Linked DNA regions of Homo sapiens: regions 1, 3 and 4 are each linked to region 2. Evidence: promoter capture Hi-C in 16 types of primary human blood cells and fetal thymus (Javierre and others, 2016). All regions are on one chromosome and are shown on one strand. The core of a region is centred on a gene start or on the middle of the fragment in contact, and the rest is flanking DNA. Distances in the headings are between cores, read along the strand shown. Region 1 holds the start of NDUFA8 (NADH:ubiquinone oxidoreductase subunit A8). Region 2 holds the start of DENND1A (DENN domain containing 1A). Region 3 holds the start of TTLL11 (tubulin tyrosine ligase like 11). Region 4 holds the start of ZBTB6 (zinc finger and BTB domain containing 6).

Evidence for each region. The method cuts DNA at HindIII sites, captures the fragments that hold promoters and counts their contacts. A CHiCAGO score of 5 or more calls a contact.
Region 1: the fragment with the promoter of NDUFA8 here is called in contact with the fragment with the promoter of DENND1A in region 2 in 2 of 17 cell types (activated CD4 T cells and total CD4 T cells); the score reaches 7.3 in activated CD4 T cells.
Region 3: the fragment with the promoter of TTLL11 here is called in contact with the fragment with the promoter of DENND1A in region 2 in 1 of 17 cell types (total CD4 T cells); the score reaches 6.5 in total CD4 T cells.
Region 4: the fragment with the promoter of ZBTB6 here is called in contact with the fragment with the promoter of DENND1A in region 2 in 1 of 17 cell types (non-activated CD4 T cells); the score reaches 6.5 in non-activated CD4 T cells.

What each region holds. Positions count from the first base shown.
Region 1 is chr9:122,157,431-122,163,842 of GRCh38, reverse strand. NDUFA8 (NADH:ubiquinone oxidoreductase subunit A8) reads left to right here and starts at 4,064. Exons shown (of 4, transcript NM_014222.3): 1 at 4,064-4,216. The coding sequence starts at 4,166. It overlaps MORN5 (MORN repeat containing 5), which reads right to left and starts at 3,935. Exons shown (of 5, transcript NM_198469.4): 1 at 3,824-3,935. The coding sequence starts at 3,870. RefSeq lists an enhancer at 3,859-4,153. The HindIII fragment of the contact is 8,418 bases long and covers 1-6,412 here.
Region 2 is chr9:123,926,070-123,932,137 of GRCh38, reverse strand. DENND1A (DENN domain containing 1A) reads left to right here and starts at 2,012. Exons shown (of 24, transcript NM_001352964.2): 1 at 2,012-2,249. The coding sequence starts at 2,233. RefSeq lists a silencer at 1,786-2,275 and enhancers at 2,626-2,825, 2,455-3,140, 3,076-3,155, 4,206-4,255. The HindIII fragment of the contact is 11,751 bases long and covers 45-6,068 here.
Region 3 is chr9:122,090,540-122,096,826 of GRCh38, reverse strand. It overlaps TTLL11 (tubulin tyrosine ligase like 11), which reads left to right and starts at 3,519. Exons shown (of 9, transcript NM_001139442.2): 1 at 3,519-4,140. The coding sequence starts at 3,679. It overlaps LOC124902263 (a long non-coding RNA gene), which reads right to left and starts at 2,695. Exons shown (of 2, transcript XR_007061757.1): 1 at 2,655-2,695; 2 at 1,427-1,653. LOC124902262 (a long non-coding RNA gene) reads right to left here. Exons shown (of 3, transcript XR_007061755.1): 3 at 5,548-5,790. RefSeq lists enhancers at 3,339-3,528, 3,278-3,991 and a silencer at 3,879-3,928. The HindIII fragment of the contact is 9,416 bases long and covers 1-6,287 here.
Region 4 is chr9:122,910,228-122,916,940 of GRCh38, reverse strand. It overlaps ZBTB6 (zinc finger and BTB domain containing 6), which reads left to right and starts at 3,618. Exons shown (of 2, transcript NM_006626.6): 1 at 3,618-3,690; 2 at 4,860-6,713. The coding sequence starts at 4,869. The coding sequence ends at 6,143. It overlaps ZBTB26 (zinc finger and BTB domain containing 26), which reads left to right. Exons shown (of 2, transcript NM_020924.4): 2 at 1-1,375. RefSeq lists enhancers at 1,328-2,085, 3,554-3,783, 3,794-3,903. The HindIII fragment of the contact is 12,849 bases long and covers 1-5,234 here.

The DNA.
Region 1 (6,412 bases), core at 2,815-5,314, 1.8 Mb after region 2:
GAGTCTCTACCACACATATGCATTATGAGGAGAGTTACAGAGATGAAATAAGTTTTATTTCCTGATGCTTGGCCCTACCAGGATCTATCAGTGGTTCCTCCACCACCAGAATTGTGCACGGTATTGAAATTTCTTTGCCAGAGCACAGACCGCCTGTCCAGCTTCCCTTTGCATAACTCCTCTGGGCACAACCCACTCTCCTGCCAAACTGAACTGCCAGCTCTACTCCATACGTGCCCTCTGGGCTATTGCTCATGCTGTTCCCTCTGCCTAAAAACTTCTAGAAAAAGAATTCTTCACCTTGCATCTCCAACCACCTAAATCCTACCCAACCTTCAAGGCCCATTTCAAATACTATCTCTTCCACGAAGCCTTTAAGGACGGCTCCGACTGTATGTGGCCTCTGAAGGGCCACAGCAGCAGGGCTCTATTGTAGGAAGCCTGTGGGCTTTACAGTCTGATCGACCTGGGTTTTAATACCTGCTCTGCCAAATGCTAACTGGGTGACTTTGGGCAGGTTTACTCCGAGCCTTACTTTTCCCATCTGTAAAATAGGATAATGATATCTATCTCAAAGAGTCCCTGTGAAGAGAAGATGCAGGCAAAGCCACCCAGAGCACAGTAGTTACTACATAAATGCTATGGGCGTCCCTTCCTCCCCTGTGTCTGTAGGTCTCTTCTGGCACTTACCTTGTGGTGCTTTGGAGTGGAGTTATCTAGAACTCAATTGTGCGACTACTCCAAAGAAACCATAATATTGAGGTCAGACAGATACTACATTAACCTTTTTTTTTTTAATATTCACACGTGGTACAGGGAAATCATGTCTCTTTTAAGGTTTTTTTTTTAAGTAGATACATTGAAGTGTAATTGACATACAATAGGCCACGTGTTTAAAGTGTACAATTTGACACGTTTTGACATCACCTGGGAAAACATCATCACAATCAAGACAAAATATCTACTCCCCACAAAAGTTTCTGCATGCCTTTCTGTAATACTTCCTCCTTGCCCCTGCCCACAATCCTCATCTCTAGGTGACTACTGATCTACTTTCTGTCACCATAGATTTGCATTTTCTAGAATTTTACATAAATGGAATCATACAGTATCTACTCTTTTTTTGTCTGGCTTCTTTCACTTAACATAATTTTTTGAGATTCATTCATGTTGTTCTGTGTACCAATAGTTCACTCCTTTTTATTGCTGAGTAGTATTCCAATGAATGGATATACCACAATTAGTTTCTTCATTCCCCTGTTGATGACATTTGGGTTTGTTTCTAGTTTTGGTTATTATAAATAAGGCTGCTATGAGTACTTGTATACATGTCTTTGTGTATATATACACTTTCATTTCTGGGGTAAATACCTATAAGTGGAATGGCTGTTTAACTTTTCAAGAAACTGCCAAACTTTTCCAAAGCAGTCGTACCATTTGATGTTCCTATCAGCCATGGAGAGTCTACATAAACTTTTTAAACCAAACGTTAAATATCAACTTCCTACTGTATAGAGAGGTTACTCTATTCATTTAAACTCCAAGAGGAAAATATCCCCTCCCTAAATTAAAAAAAATTGATTGAGTATCTACCATTTGTAAATAACATCCATATATGATCATTACATATTCCTTGGAACACTGCTGCTGAATGTGCATTGCTTTCCCATTTTACAGATGAGGAAACTGAGGTATGGATGGTTAATTAAGTGTACAACAAGCAAATGGCAGACTTGAGCCCAGACCTGTCTCATCCTCTCATTACATGCTGAAATTTGAGATGCCCCAAATAGAATTCTAGTTAACTGTTGTTAAAAATACAAAATCAGTACAGAACAACACATGTCCAACTTATGAAAAGAAGTATAACAAGTGAAAAACTGCTGACTTCTTGCTAGTTATGGGAAATTGGGAAGCCCTGTTCAGGTCTGGGAATCCCTATCGTGGTTACAGAGGTACCAGACAACCTCAAGCAAAGCCCAAATTCCTAGGGCCAAAGCATGGAAATGGCTGATTCAGCACACAAACCCAATGAAAATACACAGAAGGCCAAAGGCAAATGGTTGAAAGCCTTCCGTCTTTTACCTTGTCTGTGTGTTTCTCTCTCACCCATATACAGCCCATCGAAAATTAATGTAGTTTCTCAACTTTTTGTGCCTAAAATGCCCAATACCCCATCTCTATCTGCCAAAATTCTACCACCTTCACTGTAGCAGAGCCTTGTGAAAAGTAAGAATGTGGTTTGGACAGAGGATTGGGTTCAAATCCTGACTCTGTTACTTCCTAGCTGTGTATCCATAATGGTGGGCCAGTCATTTTGCTTCTCCTAACTTCTGTTCCTTTATTTGCAAGGTCAGCCTGAACTATCTCACTGAGTAGTGAGAGGGAGTACACACCAAGCACCTCTGCCACTTACCTGCTGAGTAGGATAAGTGTCTCAAGCCCTGTAAGGGTCACCTTTCTTACCTGGAAAGATAATAACATCTTCCTTGCAAAATTGATGTAATGATTAGAGAGATAGCATCCCATAGCATTCCTACCACCCTCTCTAGGAATCTATCTCCTATCCCTGTCCAGACCACAGATCCCTCTTTCCTATTAACTCAGAATGCCCTGGAATTCCACCAACTTGTGAATACAGAGCCCCAAGGTGGGAGTGCTTCACAGTCCCGACAACTAGCACTGGTTCAGCAAACCACTTCATATCGTCCAGCCTTGGTTTCCTCAGCTATAAAAACAGAGATTCCACTTTCTTCATCCAGGGTGGTTGGCAAAAAAGAGTGGCCACCTCTGTGTTTCCTCTGCTTCTCTCTACTACAGCTCTTACCACACTGAATCGCAGTTATCTGTTATGTCTACTTGTCGCATCATGTTTGAATGAACTTTCTGAAGACAGGGATTGTGCCCAGAGTCAATTACAGGGCCTGGTACTCGGTAGCCACTCAACATTGTTGAATTGCTGGGCACGGTGGCTCATGCAAGAGGATCACTTGAGCCCAGGAGTATGAGACCAGCTTGGACAACATAGCAAGATGCCGTCTCTACAAAAGGCGTTGAAAAATTTGCTGGGGGTAGTGGTGCACACCGGTAGTCTCAGCTACTTGGGAGGCTGAGGTGGGAAGATTGTTTGAGCCTAGGGGGTTGAGGCTGCAGTAAGCAGTGAACAGGCCACTGCACTCCAGCCAGGGCAACAGAGCGAGATCTTGTCTGAAAATAAAACAAAAACGAGAGAGAAAGAAAGAAAGAGAGGAAGGTAGGAAGGAAGGAAGGAAGGAAAAAAGGAAGGAAGGAAGGAAGGAAAAGAAAAGAAAAAAAAACTGTTGAATTGTTTTTTACTACTAGTCCACTACAGTGATTTGTGTATATAATCCTCTATAATAATCCCTAGATCGTGAACTCCTCCTGGAAGGAAGCGACCGTGTAGATTCAGATTAGCCAGTCTCTCTTCCCTAATCTTCGTGTTTGTTTTTATAGCATTTACCATTATCTGTAATTATTTTATCACTTATTTGTTTATTGGCAATACATCTCCAACTGGATTATAAACTCCATAAGAGCAAGGATCTTGACATTTTAAATATTCTTATTCCTATGTTTAAAACTGGCAGATAGCACACACACACAGTCAATGCACACACACATATAAGTATATATGGAATGAATGCATCTTAGCTTTGCTGCTTATTAGATATGGTCCTTGAAAAAATTACTCGGGCAAGTTTGTGAAAGTGCCTGGCACAAGGTGTTTCGCAGAAGCAAAAAGCCGTCTTTTTCCAGTCACAGCTATTCAAGGTATAGTAAGTGAATCAAATGAGCCCCTTACCTCCCATCTACATATTCCCCGATATATTTGCTCCCTGTGTACTCCATGGCGCCTGTTTTTAGCTTCCAGCTGTTAGGATCCGGAGTCTCAGTGGATACGGCATCACTATGACAACCTGGAGGGGTGGGCGGAGCCGAATCGAAGCCCCACCCCGCTGGAGGCTGAAAAGTTCTTGGTATTGCGCACGCTCCCTCGCTCGTGGTTGGGCAGGGCAATACGCCTGCGTGTTGCCGGATGCGCATGCGCAGGCGCCGTGTGGCACTCGGCGGTCGAAAGGGGAGTTCAAGGAGACGGGGGCGACGCGGCTGAGGGCTTCTCGTCGGGGTCGGGGCTGCAGCCGTCATGCCGGGGATAGTGGAGCTGCCCACTCTAGAGGAGCTGAAAGTAGATGAGGTGAGGCTATCCGGAGGACAGGCAAGGGAGACATGGGGCTGCGGCTTCTCGGGCCTGGGCCTAGCCCCCCTTGGGCTCCGCGGATCCTGGGACCCGGGCCCCCCTCCCCAGTCCTCCAACGCATATACAGGTCGACCCCCGGAGGTCCCCTCCGCAGCTTTGGGAGTCGCCTCCCCTCTCTACCCCACCCTGTCGCATCTTGCAGTGGCTCTAGAATCCTCCCCCTTTCGCCCTCCACAGCGACCTATTTCTCCTTCCGTGAATAATAGTGATACATTTTATTAAGCACCAACCAGTCATTTTACTTAGCTTATGTCGCTTAATCCTCAAACTTGCATGCGAGGTGAGTATACAACCCTAGGGGCTCACAGTCGAGGGAGACGGTCATCTACCTTAAAGTGGTATCACCGGTGCAGAGTGCATAGAGTGGGGTGACGAAGCCGCGGGAAAATGAGACAATATTGGAGCGTGCATCTACTCACAGCCTTGGGAAGGTGTTTGGTAACAGGACCCATTTAAAGCATTCGTTTATTCAAGAGATATCATTTCAGTAATTAACGTGTACACATAACGCTGGAAGAGATATACTTCGTGCTTTCATGGACTTTACAATCCAGTAGGGAGACAGACACATAAAGAGGCAGTCACAGTACAATGTAGTTAGTGCTGTGAGGAGTGAAGTAGAAACATACCCTACTAATTATAGCTAACATGATCAAGTCCTTTCTAGATACCAGGCAGGATGCTAATTACTTTCCATGCATTAATTCATTGAATCCTCCCAGCAACACTATAAGGTAGGATATATATATATATACACACACATACACATATATATACACACACACAATTGGTGTGTATATATATATACCATATATATATATACACAATTGGTGTATATATATATATGTATATACCATATATATATACACACACACAATTGGTCATATATATATATATACACACACACACACAATTGGTCGTAGCGTTATAAATAAGGAATTAGTCCCCGAGAGTAGAAATGATTTGCCCAAGGTCACGGAGCTCGTAAGTAATAGAGCTGGAAGTGAACCCAAGTCTGATTTTAAAACCAATGCTTTTCCACTATATTATGGGTGAAAACTCACAAGAATGAGACGGCCTAGCAGAACTTGTGTGTTTAGGGAGCCAAGTACAGTTTGATGTGACCCTAGTGGTGGTGGTGGGAAGCAGCAGGTGCTGAGCCTGGAGAGGCAACTTGGGCTGAGATAGGACTTGGAAGCAGCTTCTACAAGGCCAGACCAAACAGTTTGGACTTGATCCAGTAAGGGAGGTGGTGGGAAGAGTGGAAGGTTTTAAGGCAGAGGAGTGTCATGGCAGGGCTGGATAGTAGAACAGGCTATATTAAAGGAGAGGAAGGCCAAGACTAGAAATGATGTACCAGCAATGATATACCCGGCACTATGTTAAGTGTTTTGTTTGTTTGTTTTGTTGTTTTTGAGAGTCTCGCTCTGTTGCCCAGGCTGGAGTGCAGTGGCGCGATATTGGCCCACTGCAACCTCCGCCTCCCGGGTTCAAGCGATTCTGCTGCCTCAGCCTCCCGAGTAACTGCGACTACAGGCGCTCATCACCACACCCGGCTAATATTGTGTATTTTTAGTAGAGACGGGGTTTCACCGTGTTAGCCAGGATGGTTTCGATCTCCTGACCTCGTAATCTGCCTGCCTCGGCCTCCCAAAGTGCTGGGATTACAGGCGTGAGCCACCGCGCCTGGCCGTATGTTAAGTCTTCTACCTGCAATGCTTCATTTAATCTTAGATGCCTGTGAGAGTGGCAACTGTTATTTTCCTCAGAGGAAGAAATTATTAGCTATGTTCAGGGACTTTATTATATTAAAGTGACATTTACTCTGAGGTGGCAGAGGGGAGCTGCCATGTGGCCCCCACTCTTTTGTTCCCCCCGGCGAACCACCCCCCTGCCCCCACCCCATGTAGCTGGGTTAATCTTGAGTTGCTGTATTTCTTGTTGCAATTTTTATTAGGTTCAACAAACATCTGAAGTTCTACTTCATACAACTGATGTATCTGAAATACATTTGCCTTTAGTCTTCACACAATTGAATGAACATACGAATAATTACATAAATAACTAAAATACAAGACAAGGTGTGATTAAATACTATGAAAGGGGGAAGATGTGGTTTAGGAAAAGATTTGA
Region 2 (6,068 bases), core at 763-3,262:
GTGCTCTTTGCTCCTATGTTACACTCGCTCTTATGATGGAAGCTTCTCATCACTCTCTCTGCCCATTTTACGGGGGAGGAAACTAAAACATACACTTGTCTAATCATTTGCATAAAATCTGCCAGTCAATGCTGAAGCCAGAATTAGAAGCCACGTTCCTAACTCCCAGTCCAGTGCTCTCTCCTCAGACCACCCTGCTGTCTCTGAGGCCACCTGAGCAGACACATAATCCCCACCTTCTACCTCCCTCTCCAACACACACACACACACACACACACACACACACACACACACACACCCCACCCAGCAGGCACCCAGACATATTTGTGGCCAGGATGGCTACAACCTCCTTTGAAAAGCAGCCAGCTTTGCCCTCCACCAATAACTTTGTTTTATTTATAGTCTCCTGCTCAGAGCTTTTGAACTGGCTCCCATTCCAGGGAAGATCTTGATAGCAACTGTTCCTTGGAGAAGTTTCATAGGTGAATAAACACCACAGAGCTCCTGCCTGTCTAGCAGAGCTTTGCTCCTGGGGGTGTTTACAAGTCGGTATTGGTGTCTGGGTGCATAAGACTTTAAATTCAAAATGACAGTTTGGACATTTTCACTTTTTTTTTGGTTTTCATTTTAAAAAGTTTACCCTTTGACTTCAACAACCTAAAGGCAGAGGCAAAAGGGAGAAACTATCTTTATTCAGAAGGTGACTCCAACAGAAGAAGTCTTCTACGACTTATCTTCTGGCTTTCTTTCCTCCCATCCTGGCCGGGAGCTAGGACGCAGGACCAGTTACGTAGAGGCTATGGGGTGGGGGTAGGGTGGGGAGGCACTCCATGCATTTATAAGAACTAAAATGGCAGAAGTGATGAATGGCATTTCGGGACAGAAAATTGGAAAAAAAAAAAAAAAAAGGAAAAAAAGCCTAATATTAAAAATGTCTTTGGACTTGTGGCCAAAGGTGCCACCTTAAAGCATGACTATGTCACAGGTGTCTGGAATGATTCAGTCTGGACACTAATCTTGGCTTCTTCACTCGTTGCTAGTTATGTGACCTTGGGAATGTGGCTCAGTTTCCTCTTTGTAAATTAGGGAGATGAACACAGGATTATTGTGAGGATTGGCACTAATGATGTACGGAAATACTGTGTCTGATGCAGAAAGGGCACTCACCCGCTCATTAAAGGGTGGCTAATGGTAGCTGTGATTATTGCTTCCTTTATGATCCCTCTGGCCCTAGAGGGGATGAAATTGAGGTGTTCATGGAAGTGAATCCCAAGGGGGAGCAGGGGTAGGTAGCAGGCTGGTGATCTCGGCTCTCAAATCCTTTCATTTGCATTGAGTTAATCTCTATCAGGGACTGTTGTGTTAACAGGAGGCTTCGATGTTGGAGTTCCCAAAACGGCTGATAAAGGGAGGCAGAGGTCCTCAGCGGGAGGGCAGAGCTGAGCCACCACGTGGGTCCACGAAGCCCCCAGGTGGCTTTCCTGTAGGTATGTGGGGTCTCCTTCAAGCTCTAAGGGGAAAGGAAGAGGAAAGGCCTTCAGATGGGGAAGTGGACGGTGTGATGGAGAAGAGGTTCTGCACGGAACTTACTGGAAGGTGCGGGATGTTAAAGGGAAAACGTGTTTTCATGGAGGCCTGGGCGGGGGATTAGCTCTCCGTTAGAGAGGCTGGGTGGGAGGCCTCCAATGGGAGGATTGGTGGCGGTTTCATCGGGAGGGCTTGGGGTCTCCATGAGAGGATTAGGGTCTCTTCAGGGCGGCTGTGAGTGGAGGTTTCCAGCGGGGCGCAGTGGGGTGCAGATGTGTAAGGGCCTGCAACGGAACGCCAGAGTCCTCCGGGGCCCGCGCCCTGGGAGACGTGCGGGTGACCGCGCTCCCGCCCCGCCCCCACCGGCCACGGCCCCGCCCCCGCGAGCGGACTACACTTCCCAGCAGCCCCAGCGGGCAGCGGCGGCGGCAGCGCGGGCGGGAGGGGCGGTGGTGAGAGGCGGAGGGGGCGGCGCGCGCCGGGCACGCGCGCCGGCGACCATGGCGTTCGCCGGGCTGGAGCGAGTACATTAACCCCTGGAGGCGGCGGCGGCGGCGAGGGAGCGAGCCTCGAGCGGGCGGGCCCCAGCCTGAGGGAAGGGAGGAAGGGGCGGGGAGAGCGCCAGAGGGAGGCCGGTCGGCCGCGGGCGGGCGGGCAGCGCAGCGCCGAGCGGGGCCCGCGGGCCCATGAGGAGGCCTGGGGACCATGGGCTCCAGGATCAAGTGAGTGCGGCCGGGCCGGGCGGAGCCGGGCCGGGCGCGGGGCGGCGAGGCCGGGCCAGGGCTGCAGGCCGCGGGCCGCGCGGGGGACTTGTTGCCGAGACCAGAGGGGCGCCCCGCGTGACGCCGGCACGCGGGGAGGGGGACGGTTGCTATGGCGATCCAGGGAGGCGCGGGGGCGGGGTGCGCGCGGGGTGGCAGGGCGCCGGGGGTCAGGTGTCCCCTCCTCACCTGGGGGTCGGAACAGCTGAGATTACAGGGCGGCCCCCTCCCCGGGTTTACGGAGAGCCCCTGAAAATGGTCCTTCAACTGTGGGGAAGGGGAGTGGGAAAGCCCCGGAAGCACCTCCCCATGTTTGGGCATGTTTGGGGCGCCCCTGAAAGTTGGCAGGTCCGGAGAGGTTGCAGCCTGGCCGCTTGAGGCCTGCGGCCCCCACAGAAGTCGCGTGAGGTTCTTAGAGGGAGGGGCCGCTCATGGTGTGGCCACCTAAGGTGTGGATGGCCGGGGAGGAAGGCCTGTCTCTCTATTTCCCCCCTCTTATCTGTGAAAATCTCCACGCAGCAAGGTCCAAAGGCTGTGAAGGAGGATACCTCTGTGTTGTAACCGAGCACCTGCTCTTGATAATCGTTGGAAAGGCTTTGTAACTCAATCTGGCGAATTCCCTCACTCATTCATTCACCTGGAGTTCCCGGTGGAGGGTTAGCTTTCCGGGGAAATTGTTGATACATGTAACTTCAGAATCCACTGAAACATTGTTGCTGTCCTTGTAGACTTAGAAGTTGACTTTGGAAAGTGCAACTCTTAAGCGGTCCAATTTGGGTGTGTGGCTTTCGACTCTATCTCCCCTCCCAGCCAGGTCCTCTTGTGGCCTCTCCCTTCCTCTGCCCCAGAACTGGAGATGTTTTATCTCTAATTACTAACAAATGTTCACTTTTTCCTCTGTGACTAATAGAATTGTTTAAGGGCATTAAAAAGCAAAGTTGACAGCATAGGCTTTTCTGTAAAACAACTTTCCTAGGACACTTTAAACCCTCTTACAAGAAAGTTTGTGGAATGTGTTTATTTCAGCATTTTGAGAATTGTACTAGGGAAGTTTGAAAGGAGAAGGGCCTTAAGGGTGAAACTAATAATTATTCAAACATTGCATCTCATGTCCAGGTGATGCCCGTGCAGTGTGACCCTTGCCCAGCCTTGCAGTCCCCCGTGTGGTTAGGCTTCTCATTTACAAAATATGTATGAGATGCGCTGCAGCAGCCTTGAGACATCTGCTGAATGAAACTAGAAAAGTTTGCTTATGGTAATGAAAATGGAAGAGTCGCATGAACACTCTGTTAAATCTTTATTTTTGTGGAAATGAGAAAAAAGTTAGAAGCATGCTCCAAACAAGAGCTTGAGAGGCTTGGGAGGTAAAAAGATGTCGTTTGTGAAACATTGGGATTAAAGAGGCACTCAAGTTTAGCTCCTGCTTCCAAGTAAGAGTTGTAAACTTGGATTTCAATAGCACTTAGAAACACTTTCCAGAAGCCAACTTAGAGTTGCAGAGTATGCGTGAGGACACTTACCCTTCTTGTTACAGAAAAGTTCAGAAACTTGCCTGACATGAAGCAGTGAGTGTCAGAACCAGTATTAAAATCCAGCAAGTAAAAGTTCAGATGGCTAGCCATCAAATCTCTCTGTTGCTCTCCAAGGTAGCAGGTTGACAAATACATTTCTCAAATGTGTTTTGTGGAACCCATCGCTAATTCTGAGCACTTGGGTTAGGGAATTTACTAAGGCATGGAATTGTATTAAGCGTGAAATGAGTATGAAGAATAGCCTTATTGATCTTGAAACTAGACTACTCTGTGATAAAAACTTAGGCTTGGGAAATATGTTAGCTTGTGGTGAAACCGAAAGAGAATATGAAGAGAGAAGTTATGAAAAGTAGTTGTGATTTATAGTGACTGTTGATTATGCAACTTCTGCCTGTAGCTAGGAATGGGGATGGACAGGAAATTACCCACTTAAGTGCTCCTCTAGTTGTTGGAGAAGACAGAGCTTTGGTTACTACTGGCTGGCTTTCCCTCCTGGCAGGGCATTCAAGATGTTCTCCTGGCTGTGGTGAAATCTAAGTGTGCAGGTTCCATTGAATAGGACAGTCTTGGAGGTAGGGACAAGGGGGAGGGGTTCCTTTTGTTTTCTCTTGCTTATCTCTGATGCAGCAAGTCAGTTGACTAGGTGGAATCAGGTCTAGGTTCAAATTCCAGCTCTTTTTAATGCTAATTATGAAACTTTACACAGACTGCCTTTTCAACCTCAGTTTCCCTGAAGGTAAAATGGGGAGGACTGTGTCCAGGTTGTAGGGTTATTATGAGCATTGAACACAGTATCAATGTAAATGTCAGGTCCATGTTAAAAACTCAGTAATTGTTAGGTTTTTTTCTTTTTTTTCACCTTCTGTATCAAAAGACTAAGAACATTACTGTATATTAGAAATGTCAGAGAAAGGTATGTTTAAGGTAATGGAGAAGAAAATTTTAATGACCAAGGAATTAGGCTGTTAACATGCAGAGTAGGGCTTAACATTGTCTCATTATTAAAAAATAAAAGTTGATTTAAAACAATATTGTGTGTAATTGTGAAGCTGGTGTCTGTTGTGTGATCAGTGGTAAAGCACGTGAGTTGCTAGGCACAGGTGTTGAGATTTCGTGTTTGATCAGACTTCTCTTTTAAGTTTAAGCCTGGTTGAACACAATCTCTGTCAGGTACCGTGGAAATCCTTAATGTGAACCATTTCATGAAACCCTCACTACTGTCCAGTGGTGGCGATGCTATTTATTAACCACATTTTTCAAATGAGAGAATGGGAGTTTATAGGCCTAAGATCAGATGCCATCCCCCAGACGCCTGCCTTGATGCCAGTTTCCTGTTGCCACCCCCACCCCCTCCTGTTCCAGTCTAGGCCAGGTGCCCTTCATCCGTGTTTCTGTGGCCCCTTGTGTTTATTGCAGTCACAATACTGAATCTCGTTTCTTGTCTGTGTCCCGTACCATGCTGGACATAAACTTCTTGAGAGGAAGGACTGTCTTATTTATCTTTGAGTTCCCTGTGTCAGACTCAATGCCTGGCACATGGTTGTTTGAGAAGAGTTCATGGAACGCATTTAAGAAATACATTAGGATCTATATTAAGATTCTAATTAAGACCGAGTTGAGTGTTTATCGAGTTAAAAAAAAAACCCTTGAGGAAGAAAAGTTTTATATTTTATAAATTTCTAAGGCAAATTATATGGTTTACGCAGGCCTTTTACTAGATTATTTAGTTCTTTTTTTTTTTTTTTTTTTTGAGATGGAGTTTTGCTCTTGTTGCCCAGGCTGGAGTGCAATGGCATGATCTTGGCTCATGGCAACCTCCAACCCCCGGGTTCAAGCGATTCTCCTGCCTCAGCTTCCCCAGTAGTTGGGATTACATGCATGAGACACCATGCCTGGCTAATTTTCTTTATTTGGTAGAGACGGGTTTCTCCCGTGTTGGTCAGGCTGGTCTTGAACTCCCAGCCTCAGGTGATCTGCCTGCCTTGGCCTCCCAAAGTGCTGGGATTACAGGTGTGATGTGAGCCACCGTGCCCAGCCTCATGTTTATTTTAATAAAGGAACATTGTCTTGCCTCAAATCAACATTTAATGGACAAAAAAAGAGAAGGTCACCAGTATGCAGGTAGCACCCTGGAAACCTAAATGTTACATCTGTATGGACATTTATCTAGAAGAATAAAAGGAGCAGTGGTAACTGACAATCTTCAACAGGTATTTTTAAATCTTATTTAGTGTTTGAATGATCCCAG
Region 3 (6,287 bases), core at 2,270-4,769, 1.8 Mb after region 2:
GATCTAAAGAAAGGCAGAGGGCATGTGCAAAGGCCCTGAGGCAGAAGAGGTCTCGGGATGTGAAGCCAAAATGAATATTTCTATATGGGATTGTCCTTACAGATTTGACATATGAGGCTGAAAATGACTCATTCATTAATACATCCATACTACTTTGTTCATACTACCATGAACAAAGCAAGGGCCACTGTGTTCCAAGACCCAAGAGATGGGGATACAGAGATGAATCAGACAAGATTTGTTCTTGCCCAGACTAATGGTGGAGGCTGAGATGATTTCTAGATAGTGTGACAGACAGACCAGGGTTGAGAGTTGTGGATGAGAATTATGGGTGTGAATAGAAGAGCACAGAGAGTAACTATTTCTGCCTGAGGCACTGGGAAAAGTTTGTCTAAGAACAGACATGAAGGAAGGGAAGTCCAGACAGAAGGAACAATGTTTACAAAGGCATGGAGGCAGGGAGAGGGGTTGATTTCAGAAATTGTAATCAGGAAGGGCCTCTTAGGACAATCAATGTTCTTGGACTTTATCTGTAGATGGTGACAAACCAGGGGAGGTTTCTAAGCAGGAGAGTGGCAGGTCTGGTGTGGAGAATGGGTGGGTGTGTGGCAGAGCTGGAGGTGAGCTATCAGCAGAAGCCTGAATTGGGGTGGTGATGATAGAGATAGATAAGAGAGGAAAGAGGAGATCTCTCTCTCTCTCTCTCTTTTTCTCTCTCGAATGAGTCTCGCTCTGTTGCCCTAGGCGTGCAGTGGCGCGATCTCAGTTCACTGCAGCCTCTGCCTCCTGGGTTCATGAGTTTTGTGCCTCAGCCTCCCGAGTAGCTGGGATTACAGGCATATGCCATCATGCCCAGTTTTTATATATATATATATATATATATATATATATATATATATATATATATATGTTTTTTTTTTTTTTTTTTTTTTTTTTTTGAGACCGAGTCTCACTCTGTCGCCCAGGCTGGAGTGCAGTGGCGCGATCTCGGCAAATTTCAAGCATGGATGACTGAATGAAGGTAGTGCCACTTGCTGAGATCAAGGACACCAGGAGGAGGGACAGGATTTGGGGGGTAGGTTTGTGGAGAGAAATGGGGGGACAGTGAGGCCTTCTTACTGATACCACGGACAGCTCCAAGAATTTCCAGAGGACTTGCATCAGACTCTATGAGTGGTTCTTGCCTCCGCTGCCTTAGAATCAGCGGAGGAGCTAATTTAACATGCAGATTCCCAGGTCCACCCAGATGTGCTGCATCACAGTCTCTGGGGGTGGGGTCCAGGAGCCTGCATTTTAAATAAACACCCCGGGTTGTTCCCATGCAAGTGGCCAGACGACCATGCTTACAGAAACTCTGAAACAAAGTCATGAAGGGAACAGATGCGAGCGCCCTCTGCTGCTAAAAAGGAGGTTTGGATCTCTTAAGTTTATGACTTGGACATTTCAAGGCAGTTTATTCAGCAAGTGAAACCCCTGGACTAAAGCAAAGAAACAAGACACCTGGAGAGATGAGAGAGGAAGAGGGGCCACGTTCCTTGACAACTTCTGTGTTTCTTTCACCCTGTAGTGTCGAGCGAGGCAAAGTTCCCCTGTGTGCAGTCGTGGCCGCTGTGGTCAGTCTGGGGTGCTGTTACACCTTCTCAACCCCACTTCCTAAAAAAACAAATGCGGCTCCCTCAGGTGGGAGGGGAGAGCTTTCTCCTTGGTTTGGCTTTAAAATGATGGCAACTCCCAAAAATGGAAAGCAGGGGCTCAAACAGGTATTTGTATACCAATGTTAACCGACATTCTTCACAATAGCCAAAAGGTGGAAACAACCTAAGTCCATTGACAGATGAATGGATAAAAACGAGGTGGTGTATGCACACGACGAAATATTTTTCAGTCTTAAAAATGAGTGAAATTTGGACTCATGCTACAACATGGAGAAACCTTGAGGACATTATGCTACGTGAAATAAGCCAGACAAATACTGTATGATTCCACTGACATGAGGAACCAGGAATAGTCAAATTCATAGTCAGAAAGTAGAAATGGTGGTTCCCAGGGACTAGGAGAGAAGGGAATCCCGACTTATTGTTTCATAGACACAAAGTTTCAGTTTGGTAAGATAAAAGAGTTCCGGAGACCCATAGTGGTGCTGGTTGCACAACAATGTGAGTATACAGAATGCCACTGAATTGTACACTAAAAATGGTTAAAATGGCAAATTTTGTTATATTTTACCACAACAAAAAAAGTGATATAAGTAAAAGCAGTCAGGCTGGACGTGGTGGCTCACGCTTGTAATCTCAGCACTTTGGGAGGCTGAGGCGGGTGGATCATCTGAGGTCGGGAGTTAGAGACCAGCCTGGCCAAGATGGTGAAACCCCGTCTATACTAAAAATACAAAAAATTAGCCGGGCATGGTGGCCGGCTCCTGCAATCCCAGCTACTCACAAGGCTGAGGCAGGAGAATTGCTTGAAGCCGGGAGGCGGAGGCTGCAATGAGCCGAGATCACACCATTGCATCCCAGCCTGGGCGACAAGAGCGAAACTCTGTAACAACATCAACAACAACAACAAAACAAAAACAAAAACAAAAAAGAAAACAAGAGACGCGGTGGTTCTGCTTGTAATCCTAGTACTTTGGGAGGCCGAGGCTGGCAGATTACCTGAGGTCAGGAGTTTGAGAACAGCCTCGGCAACATGGCGAAACCACGTTTCTACGAGAAACACAAAACTTAGCCGGGAGTGGTGGTACATTCGTGTAGTCTCAGCTACTCGGGAGGTTGGGGTGGGAGGATCCCTTGAGCTCTGGAAGTTGAGGCTGCTGCAGTGAGCCGGGATCGCGCCACTGCACTCCAGCCTGGGCGACAGAGAGAGACCCTGTCTAAAAAAAAAAAAAAAAAAGAAAAAAAGAAAAGAAAAAGAAAAAATCGTTAATATCCTCAACTCGAGTGGGAATCTATAGGGGGCTTACCCATGCCCATGACTTCCCCATCCCATCGGGAGCTCCCTGAGAACAGGGAAAAGTGCCTCCCCTCTTATCTGGGGGCGCTCAAAGGACCAGCAGAGGGTTTCTTCAGCGGAACACTCTCTGCTCCCCTAGGGCCTGGGCTGCTCACATCCATCGCACTGAGGAGGGTCCCATCCATTGCACTGAGGAGGGTCCCATCCATTGCACTGAGGAGGGTCCCACTGGGGGGCTCCTCCTCCGTCCTATCGAGAGTTATCCCAGCGAGTGTTGGCGGGGACTGAGCCTCCTGCTTGAGGTAGTTGTTTTTACTCCCAGTCCCCAGGCTCACGAGCCCCACGCGCGCTCAATCTGCCCTCCCGCTTCTCCTCGCCACTCCGAGTTCTGCGCCCTCGAGATCCAGCGCATCCGCGGGGTGGGCGGGTCCTGGCGGCTCTTTGCCCTCTTCCAACATGGCCGCCGCTGCCTCTGTGACAGGCAGGGTCACGTGGGCAGCCTCGCCTATGAGGTCGCTGGGGCTCGGCCGGCGATTGTCCCTTCCCGGACCCCGTCTCGATGCGGTGACTGCCGCTGTCAACCCGAGCCTGAGCGATCATGGCAACGGGCTCGGGCGGGGAACGCGTGGCAGCGGCTGCAGCGGCGGCAGTTTGGTGGCGGACTGGGGCGGCGGAGCGGCGGCGGCGGCGGCGGTGGCACTGGCACTGGCCCCGGCCCTGAGCACCATGCGGCGGGGCAGCTCCGAGAGCGAGCTGGCGGCCCGGTGGGAGGCGGAGGCGGTGGCTGCGGCCAAAGCGGCGGCCAAAGCTGAGGCCGAGGCCACAGCGGAGACGGTGGCGGAACAGGTCCGCGTGGACGCGGGCGCGGCCGGGGAACCGGAGTGCAAGGCAGGGGAGGAGCAGCCCAAGGTCCTGGCCCCGGCCCCGGCGCAGCCCAGTGCGGCTGAGGAGGGGAACACCCAGGTCCTTCAGCGGCCGCCGCCCACGCTGCCCCCGTCCAAGCCGAAGCCGGTGCAGGGCCTCTGCCCGCACGGGAAGCCCCGGGACAAGGGCCGAAGCTGCAAGCGGAGCTCGGGCCACGGTTCCGGCGAGAACGGCTCCCAGCGGCCGGTCACCGTGGACAGCTCCAAGGCCAGGACCTCCCTGGATGCCCTGAAGATCAGCATCCGCCAGCTCAAGTGGAAGGAGGTGAGGCCCGGCCCGACCCGGCCGCGTGGGCACAGTGGGGTGGACAGGACGACCTCAGAGGTCTCGGCACGGCCCAGGTCAGGTCGGCGGGCGAGGGCTGAGCTCCTGCGGTGCACCACGCTCGGGCCTGCTTGTCAGCCGCAAAGTGCTCATCCTTCAAGGCCTACCCCCCAAAATCACTTCCTCCAAGAGGGCCCCCCAGACCCCTCCAGGTCAAGTTAGCCACTCACTCCTCTGCCTCCCTGCAGCTCTTTTTATGTCTCAGCCATCAGCATTTGCCTCTGCTTGTAGATATGTGTACGTCTGTCTCCTCCACCAGCTTGTAAGCCCCTGGGGCCCCGGACCCGCTCTCTCACTTCTTCATTGAAGTTATATTTGTTTAGCACTTGCTGTGTGACTCTTGGGCAGAGGAACACTTTTTATTTTGGAGGCAGACAGGCCTAGGGTCTCACTACACTTTGCTACTTAGCTGTGTGACCTTGAGTAAGTTGCTTCACCTCTTCAGCCTATTACCTTCTCTGTAAAGTGAGGCCAATTATACTTATCTCATCATCTTGTTAGCATTAGAAGACTCACTACTTAGTGTTTTATAGCACAAGTCTGCAATAAATGGTAACTTACGTTACCACCTTCTCCTTTCTCTCTTCTTCCACCATCATCACCATCACCACCACCAGCACCACCACTGTCCTCATGATCAGTGGTATAAAATCAGGCACTGTATTTTATATTCCAGGCTTGGCTTACGGCATGTGTCAGTAAGCAGTGAATGAAAGGGTGAATGAATACATGAGTTATCATCCCTGAGCCCATTTTAGACTGGCAGGGGATGGAATGTAGCACCAGTGACTCTAGAGGTGTCTGTTGCAATTGGCTACGTGGATAAAGCCATTTGACTTTATTTGCAGCATATAAGGTATTTAATGTGCTTTCAGGAGTGTCAGGAGTTTGATTAAGGATAGCTGAGTGTGGACACAGCCAGTGGTAACAGGGATCTGCTGCGGGTAACAGAGGACTCAGGTTCTTAGCCCTGTGCCTTGGCTATGGTAGATGCTCGGTAATGGTTTCATTAAGTTGGAACATACAGAGAGATGGCCACAGAAAGGACTGATGTGGTCAGAGGGTTGATGTCCCAATAGGAAAAAGTGCATTTGGTTTGGAGGGAAGTCAAGGATCAGGCAGAACCGACTTCCAGGTGGATAGGGTGTAGCCGTTGGGGAAGTTTGACTCCAAGTGTCTGGGCCCCCAGCCTTGGGGCTTGGGATTCAGAGGGGAACTTTCATGCTGGGGAAACTTGGGGAAAACAAAGGCAGGCTCTCAGTTCTAAAGTATCTGGGTTTCTAGGCAGGGCCCCAGGTCCAGGCCAGAGATATGAGGGCTAGAAAAGGTACAACTGGACAACTTGTCAGTGCCGTGGTCTTAATGAAGGGAGAATCCAGCAAATAAAACCAGGCTATGGAGTCAGGCTAGGCAGATTGGCCCAAGTGGGGCCTCCACTTAGCTTATCCCTGTGGGAGAGAGAGACATAAAGCAGGCCAGATCTCGTTTGCTCGGAGAGATGGGGCCAGATGGACTAATACATCCCAGCCCAGGTTCGTTCACTCATTCCGTAAATGTCCACTTTGGAGGTGCCAAGTTCTTTGCTGGGCCCTGGGAACCAAACATACTTAAGATGTGACCCTTGCCCCCAAGGACTTCATGGTTCAATAGGGAATAAAACACAAGTAAAGGAATAATTGCGGTCATTACAGGTCATTACATTGCTGCTGCATCCTGAAATTCTCCCTTTTCATTTATTTGCATGGCTTACTCTTGTCACTTCTTTAGATGATACCTTCCCCATCAATCTCCAGCCCTTGGTATTTATTTTTTTTCCATAGTACTAAACTTCGCCAGGCATTATATTATGTATTGCTTGTTTATTGTCGTTTCCCTCACTAGAATGTAAGCTCCATGAGGGCAGGGGCTTTGTTTTGTTTATTGCTGTACCCGCAGGTACTTGGCACACAGAAGTTGCTCAATAAATATTCGTTGAATGAATGAATACATTATGTGATGAGTGTTTCTGTGTGAAAGGAGAAATGCTGCGGGAGGTAGAGGAGGGGCACCCAGGAAGGACTTCCTGGAGGAAATAAACCCGAGCTGAG
Region 4 (6,713 bases), core at 2,369-4,868, 1.0 Mb after region 2:
CAGGATTTTCTGTTTTTATTTTTGAGCTATGAGAGTGCATGCAGATTTGAAAAATTAGGCTTGCATAGTCAGAGGGGATCTTCAATTGTTATATTTGATACGTTTACATGTATCATTGTTATCATATGTAAATTATCATCATGTGAGTCAGATGTGAAGTATGATTTTTGTCTTTTGTTCAAATATTTAAAATGATAATACAGTTGAGTGGTAAGACTAATAGGTACCTTATGCCTAACATCACTCATTATATGGTCTAATGATGCTTCCTAGCATTGTGATTTTTACATGATCCAGCCAAAGAGTACCAATTCTATGCAATAGTGAGACTCTACCCTGTCAACCAAACAGCATTTTTTGGTATTTTCTGTCAACATCATTTCTTCACAGGGAAATTTCAAGTTGGAGTGCTTCGTTTGCTCACATTCATGTCTTGTTTTTGTTACTGGTTTGAAGACTAAAAGGCACGGGTTCAAATAAGATTGGTCTCTTTGGTTGGAGACTATTTCTGGGTTCATTCAGTTGTTCAAGAAACATTAGTTAAGCACCTACTGTTGCTAGACACTATGCTAGATACTGAGGATAATGAAGGTAAGATTGATATAGTCCCTGCCCTCATGGAGCTTATAGTCTCATGTGGTCTTAGTGAAACAAAGTCTCAATTTGCTTTTATACTAGAAATAATAAAGAAAGCTGCCTTGCTGTATTCGATCAGTTAAAATCAGCAACTTTGTGCTTTTGTATCAGTAAAACATTTAGTTCTCACCTTTTGAAAATGCAAACCACTGAAGTGATTTACAGTCTCCTCCATTTTTGGCTGGAGAGGTGTTCTGTTTCTGTGAGACATTTTTCTAATTTTTGTGGAACTTCACTTTCCTCCTTCTTTGCTTATACGTGTTTGTTAGATTATATTGCAAAGAAGTCAAGTTACTGATATCCAGTATTTTACAGAGGAAGATGACTTTCAAAACTAGTCATATTTCTGTAGAGGAGGAAGATTTTTAAAACCTTTATCATTCAGCATTTGTATTTTATGGATCCCCAGGAGAACTAAAAAGGAGATGACTCTCTACCATAGTTTGGTTTAAAAAAAAATTACTCTGTCAGTTATTTATTTATTATTTAATACTAAACTCCAAACTGAAGTGGCTCTGAGGTAAATCAGATATGATTTTAATTTAAGTTTCTTTATTAGCAGATCTATAAATGGAAGGTGACCAATGTCACTGCTTCTAAAATACTGTCCTAAACAACCCAGAAGATTTTATTTCAGCTCATGAATAGCTGTTCTAAATCTGTTGTATGTTAGACATACTATGAACTACCTCTTCACTTATTATGGGGAAGTTTCCTTAATAAAAGTGTGACGATTAAAGCTCTGGTGTCATTGGTTATTTTCTCACTCTCCCCTCCTTCTATTCTTTTTTAATTGCTTTACTTTGAATACAGGAAGGTCTTCTTTATGTATAGTCTTAAAAATACATATTAAGCATGCTGAGCTTGCCTTCAGAAAAAAATACGAATTAATCAGAAAGTTGTTACTAGATTCATTTACTTCCACGAGAACCTGTTGCTGGAGGAGCAGAGCAACTGCCTTTAAGAATTGGTTCAGAGGCGGCCGGGCGCGGTGGCTCACGCCTGTAATCCCAGCACTTTGGGAGGCCGAGGCGGGTGGATCACAAGGTCAGGAGATCGAGACCATCCTGGCTAACACGGTGAAACCCCGTCTCTACTAAAAATACAAAAAATTAGCCGGGCCTGGTGGCAGGGCATTAGTCCCAGCTACTCGGGAGGCTGAGGCAGGAGAATGGCGTGAACCCGAGAGGCGGAGCTTGCAGTGAGCCAAGATCGCACCACTGCACTCCAGTCTGGGCGACAGAGCGAGACTTTGTCTCAAAAAAAAAAAAAAAAAAAAAAAAAAAGGAATAGAATTGGTGCAGAGGCCGGGCGCGGCGGCTCATGCCTGTAATCCCAGCACTTTGGGAGGCCAAGGCGGGTGGATCACCTGAGGTCAGGAGTTCGAGACCGGCCTGGCCAACATGGTGAAACCCCGTCTCTACCAAAAATACAAAAAGTAGCTGGGTGTGGTGGCAGGCACCTGTAATCCCAGCTACTCGGGAGGCTGAGGCAGGAGAATTGCTTGAACCTGCTAGGCGGAGGTTGCGGTAGGCCGAGATCGTGCCACTGCACTCCAGCCTGGACCACAGAGTGAGACTCTGTCTCAAAAAAAAAAGAAAAAGAATTTCTTCAGTCATATCTTCATTCAGCACAAATACTTGATGCCTACCAAGTGCTAGACTTCGAGAATACAAAGATCAGTAAGCCACTGTCCTAAATAACTCTGCCTAGATGAGGCACAAATTAATACAGGCGTGTTAAGTGCAATAATGAAGGCAGGAAAAGGGATTACAGGTTTCAAACTGGGAACCAATTATCTTAGGGCAGTTCAGGATGGCTTCAGGATGATGAGATTTATAAACGGGTTCTTTAAAGATACGTTGGGGAAGGCCGGGCTCGGTGGCTCACGCCTGTAATCCCAGCACTTTGGGAGGCCAAGGCGGGCGGATCACGAGGTCAGGAGATCGAGACCATCCTGGCTAACACGGTGAAACCCCGTCTCTACTAAAAATACAAAAAAAAAAAAATTAGCCAGGCGAAGTGGCGGGCACCTGAAGTCCCAGCTTACTCGGGAGGCTGAGGCAGGAGAATGGCGTGAACCCAGGAGGCGGAGCTTGCAGTGAGCCGAGATCCTGCCGCTGCACTCCAGCCTGGGCGACAGAGAGAGACTCCGTCTCAAAAAAAAAAAAAAAAAGCCTGGGGAAAAGGCTAGGGCACGTCAGAGGAAACAGCTGGGCCAAAAGTTTTGGGATGGAGGAACGCATTTAAGTGTGAAGCTAGATCCAGAGGTTGGGGCCATCTCCTGATGGGGCATTATCTAGGCAATCTCGAATACGGATCTTTATGATAGTTTCTGCTCTGCCACCTTTCAAGTTGTAGGTGGCCCCAATAAGGAGAGGAATCGTCCCAGAATAATCCATAAAAGGTCTGGTTACTCTGACAGACGTGCCGTAACCGAACCTCAAACCCCGTCTCCAATTCGGATGTTCAGGAGGACTCACAAAAGGAAATGGCTCGGCTGGGCGCGGTGGCTCAACCCGGTAATCCCAGCATTTAGGGAGGCCGAGGCGGGCGGATCTCCTGAGGTCAGGAGTTCGATACCAGCCTAGCCAACATGGTGAAACCCCGTCTCTACTAAAAATACAAAAATGAGCCGGGCGTGGTGGCGGGCGCCTGTAATCTCAGCTACTTGGGAGGCTGCGGAGCGAGAGTCGCTTGAACCCGGGAGGCGAAGGTTGCAGTGAGCCGAAATCGCGCCATTGCACTCCAGCCTGGGCAACAAGAGCGAAACTCCGTCTTAAAAAAAAAAAGGGATGGTGGGGGAAAACGGCTCGAGTGCCGAAACTGGGACAAGAGAGATGGGGCTTGCCGGCATTCAGGAGCCTTTCTGTCATTCCAAGAGGGGGGAAGTGAGGAAGGAAGACCGTCTCAGAATGTCCTTCCGGGGCGCCTAGAGGGCCCCAGTAAAGAATAAAGCTGGTTGGCACCGGATGTGTTTTCTTCCAGGCTAAGTCCATCTTCCGGCTTGGGCAGACGCTGCCGCGGAATCCTTGACTCTAGTTTTCTGAGTCGGTGAGTGAGTGCAAAGTAGATTCCTCAGGTGGAGGGTGCCTGAGGAAGAGGAGGAGGAGGAGGAGGACAGCTGGGCTCGGCCCCGGAGTGGCTAATCTTGTGCTGCAACCACTGGGCCGACAGGGCCTTGGCCCTTCGCAGGGTTGCCTCCAGAATACCTGTGTGCTGAACCTGGCATCCGGTTTCAGTTCAGCAGATGTTCCCTGAGCTCCTCCTGCTCTGTGTGGGCCCCTGAGCTCGGTGCAGGAACACAGATGCATCAGGCACCATCTCGCGGTGCTCAGAGAGCAGCTGACTCTCTCTGGTTGAAACGGGAGGTGGAGTCATATTAGTTTTACTTGATTTGGGCTTAAAGGAGCCTAATCACTAGCTGAAAAAAGGAACTGGAAACGCGAATGTAAGAAATGTGTATTCGTGTCTTTTTGTCTGGGTAATGATGGAAAAATTTAGTATTGAACGAGGTTCGAGTATGAAAAAGAGAATAGAAGGTGATAAAGCCATAAAGATGGGTTAGAGCCAAATCGTGATGGGTCTCGTATTCTTTCCTAAGAAATCTGGACTGTCCCGGAGGTAGAGAAGAACGATAGAAGATTTAAAGCAGAAAAGGGAAATTAAAAATAAAATAAAATAAGGGTTGTTAATCCTGGTGGCACTCAGGCGGGTAATCTGGCATACAGAAGAGTGTGGTATAAAGAAGACCTGTTGGAAGACATTGCAGTTGTCCAGGTGAACCGGAAGGAGGACCTGTTGTAGTGGTGGGGAGTAGGAAGTTTGGAGATTACGTTAAAGTTGCTAATTGGATATATTATGTTAAATCAACTTTTTGGTGGTCACAGTGCTTATATTGGATATTCAAAATTGATAGATTGTTCTTGACCACAAGGCACACAACATTTAGCAAAAGAAACAAGCTAGAAACTGTTCACTACAATTCATTGTAATGAATGTTGTAACAAAGTTATGAAAAATGTGCTATGAGATCATAGAGAAGTGCATTATAAAGTTCTCGTTTTGAGATGGTGGCATAAAGGTTCATAACACCTACATTAGACTTTGAGTCTTCTTCTTCCTAATTCAGGTTTGGGGTTTTTCGTTTGTTTTCACCATTACAGCATGGGAAAGCATTCCCTATCCTTATTACATCAATGTTTGTGTTTTATTTTGCTTAGATTGTGATCATGGCTGCTGAGTCTGATGTTCTGCATTTCCAGTTTGAACAGCAAGGAGATGTGGTCTTGCAGAAAATGAATCTTTTGAGACAGCAGAATTTATTTTGTGATGTATCAATTTACATTAATGACACTGAGTTCCAGGGGCACAAGGTGATTTTGGCTGCTTGCTCCACTTTTATGAGAGATCAGTTTTTACTCACACAGTCAAAACATGTCAGAATCACCATCTTACAGAGTGCAGAAGTTGGCAGAAAATTGTTACTGTCTTGCTATACTGGAGCACTTGAAGTTAAAAGGAAAGAGCTTTTGAAATACTTGACTGCTGCCAGTTACCTTCAGATGGTTCACATTGTGGAAAAGTGCACAGAAGCTTTGTCAAAGTATCTGGAAATTGATCTTTCTATGAAAAACAACAACCAACACACTGACCTGTGTCAGTCTTCTGATCCTGATGTTAAGAATGAAGATGAAAATTCTGATAAAGACTGTGAGATAATTGAAATTTCAGAAGATAGTCCTGTAAACATAGATTTCCATGTTAAAGAAGAGGAAAGCAATGCTTTGCAGTCTACAGTAGAGAGTCTGACATCAGAGAGAAAGGAAATGAAGTCACCAGAGCTGTCTACAGTAGACATAGGTTTTAAAGACAATGAAATTTGTATCCTTCATGTAGAATCCATCAGTACAGCTGGTGTCGAAAATGGGCAGTTTTCACAGCCTTGTACCTCTTCAAAAGCAAGCATGTATTTCTCTGAAACACAGCATTCATTGATCAATTCTACAGTTGAGAGCAGAGTGGCTGAAGTTCCTGGGAATCAAGATCAGGGCTTATTTTGTGAGAATACTGAAGGAAGTTATGGTACAGTGAGTGAGATTCAGAATCTGGAGGAAGGTTATTCACTGAGGCACCAGTGCCCCAGGTGTCCTCGAGGCTTTCTTCATGTTGAAAACTATCTGCGCCACCTTAAAATGCATAAACTATTCTTATGCTTACAGTGCGGAAAAACATTTACACAGAAGAAAAATCTCAACCGACACATCCGAGGACACATGGGCATACGGCCCTTTCAGTGTACTGTGTGCTTGAAGACATTTACTGCCAAAAGCACACTTCAGGACCACTTGAACATACACAGTGGGGATCGGCCATACAAATGCCACTGTTGTGATATGGATTTCAAGCACAAGTCTGCTCTCAAAAAGCACTTAACCTCTGTCCATGGCAGAAGCAGTGGTGAAAAACTATCTAGGCCTGATCTCAAAAGGCAAAGTCTACTATAATTATAATCACAGACTTGTTATATAAAGTTTGTATTATTCTATTACGCAAGTCTTTCTGTAGAGATGCAGCATTTGTAATATTTCATCCCCCCAATCTTTGTTTCTTATATTTTGTCGGCTTACACATAATCATTCTTTCTGAACTTCTAACAGTTCCAAAGTTATGGGAGGCACAGTAAAGCTGATGGGATTCTGTCTCATCTCATACCTTACATATAAGTCTCAGTAGTATCCCTAGAGAAATAGTGTTCCTCTCTTATATATTCTTGATTCTAGTGACAAAGGATCCAGCAGTATTTGCAGATTCCGATTTGGAGTCTCTAGGTAATTGATTTAAGTATAAAATCCAATCATATAAAAACTTTAATGAATTAGGATAACAAGAAGAGAAAATAAAGGTAAAAACACTATTACCTGTTTCTAGTCACTTTAGAACAGATGGCACTAAAAAAATTTTTTTTTAACTTTTTACCAGCTGTTCTTGGATTCCAAACTAAACACCAAGATACTTTTCATTTTAAAATGTATAAAGTAACAATTCAGATTCACTTGGGAATAGCAGAATTTTTT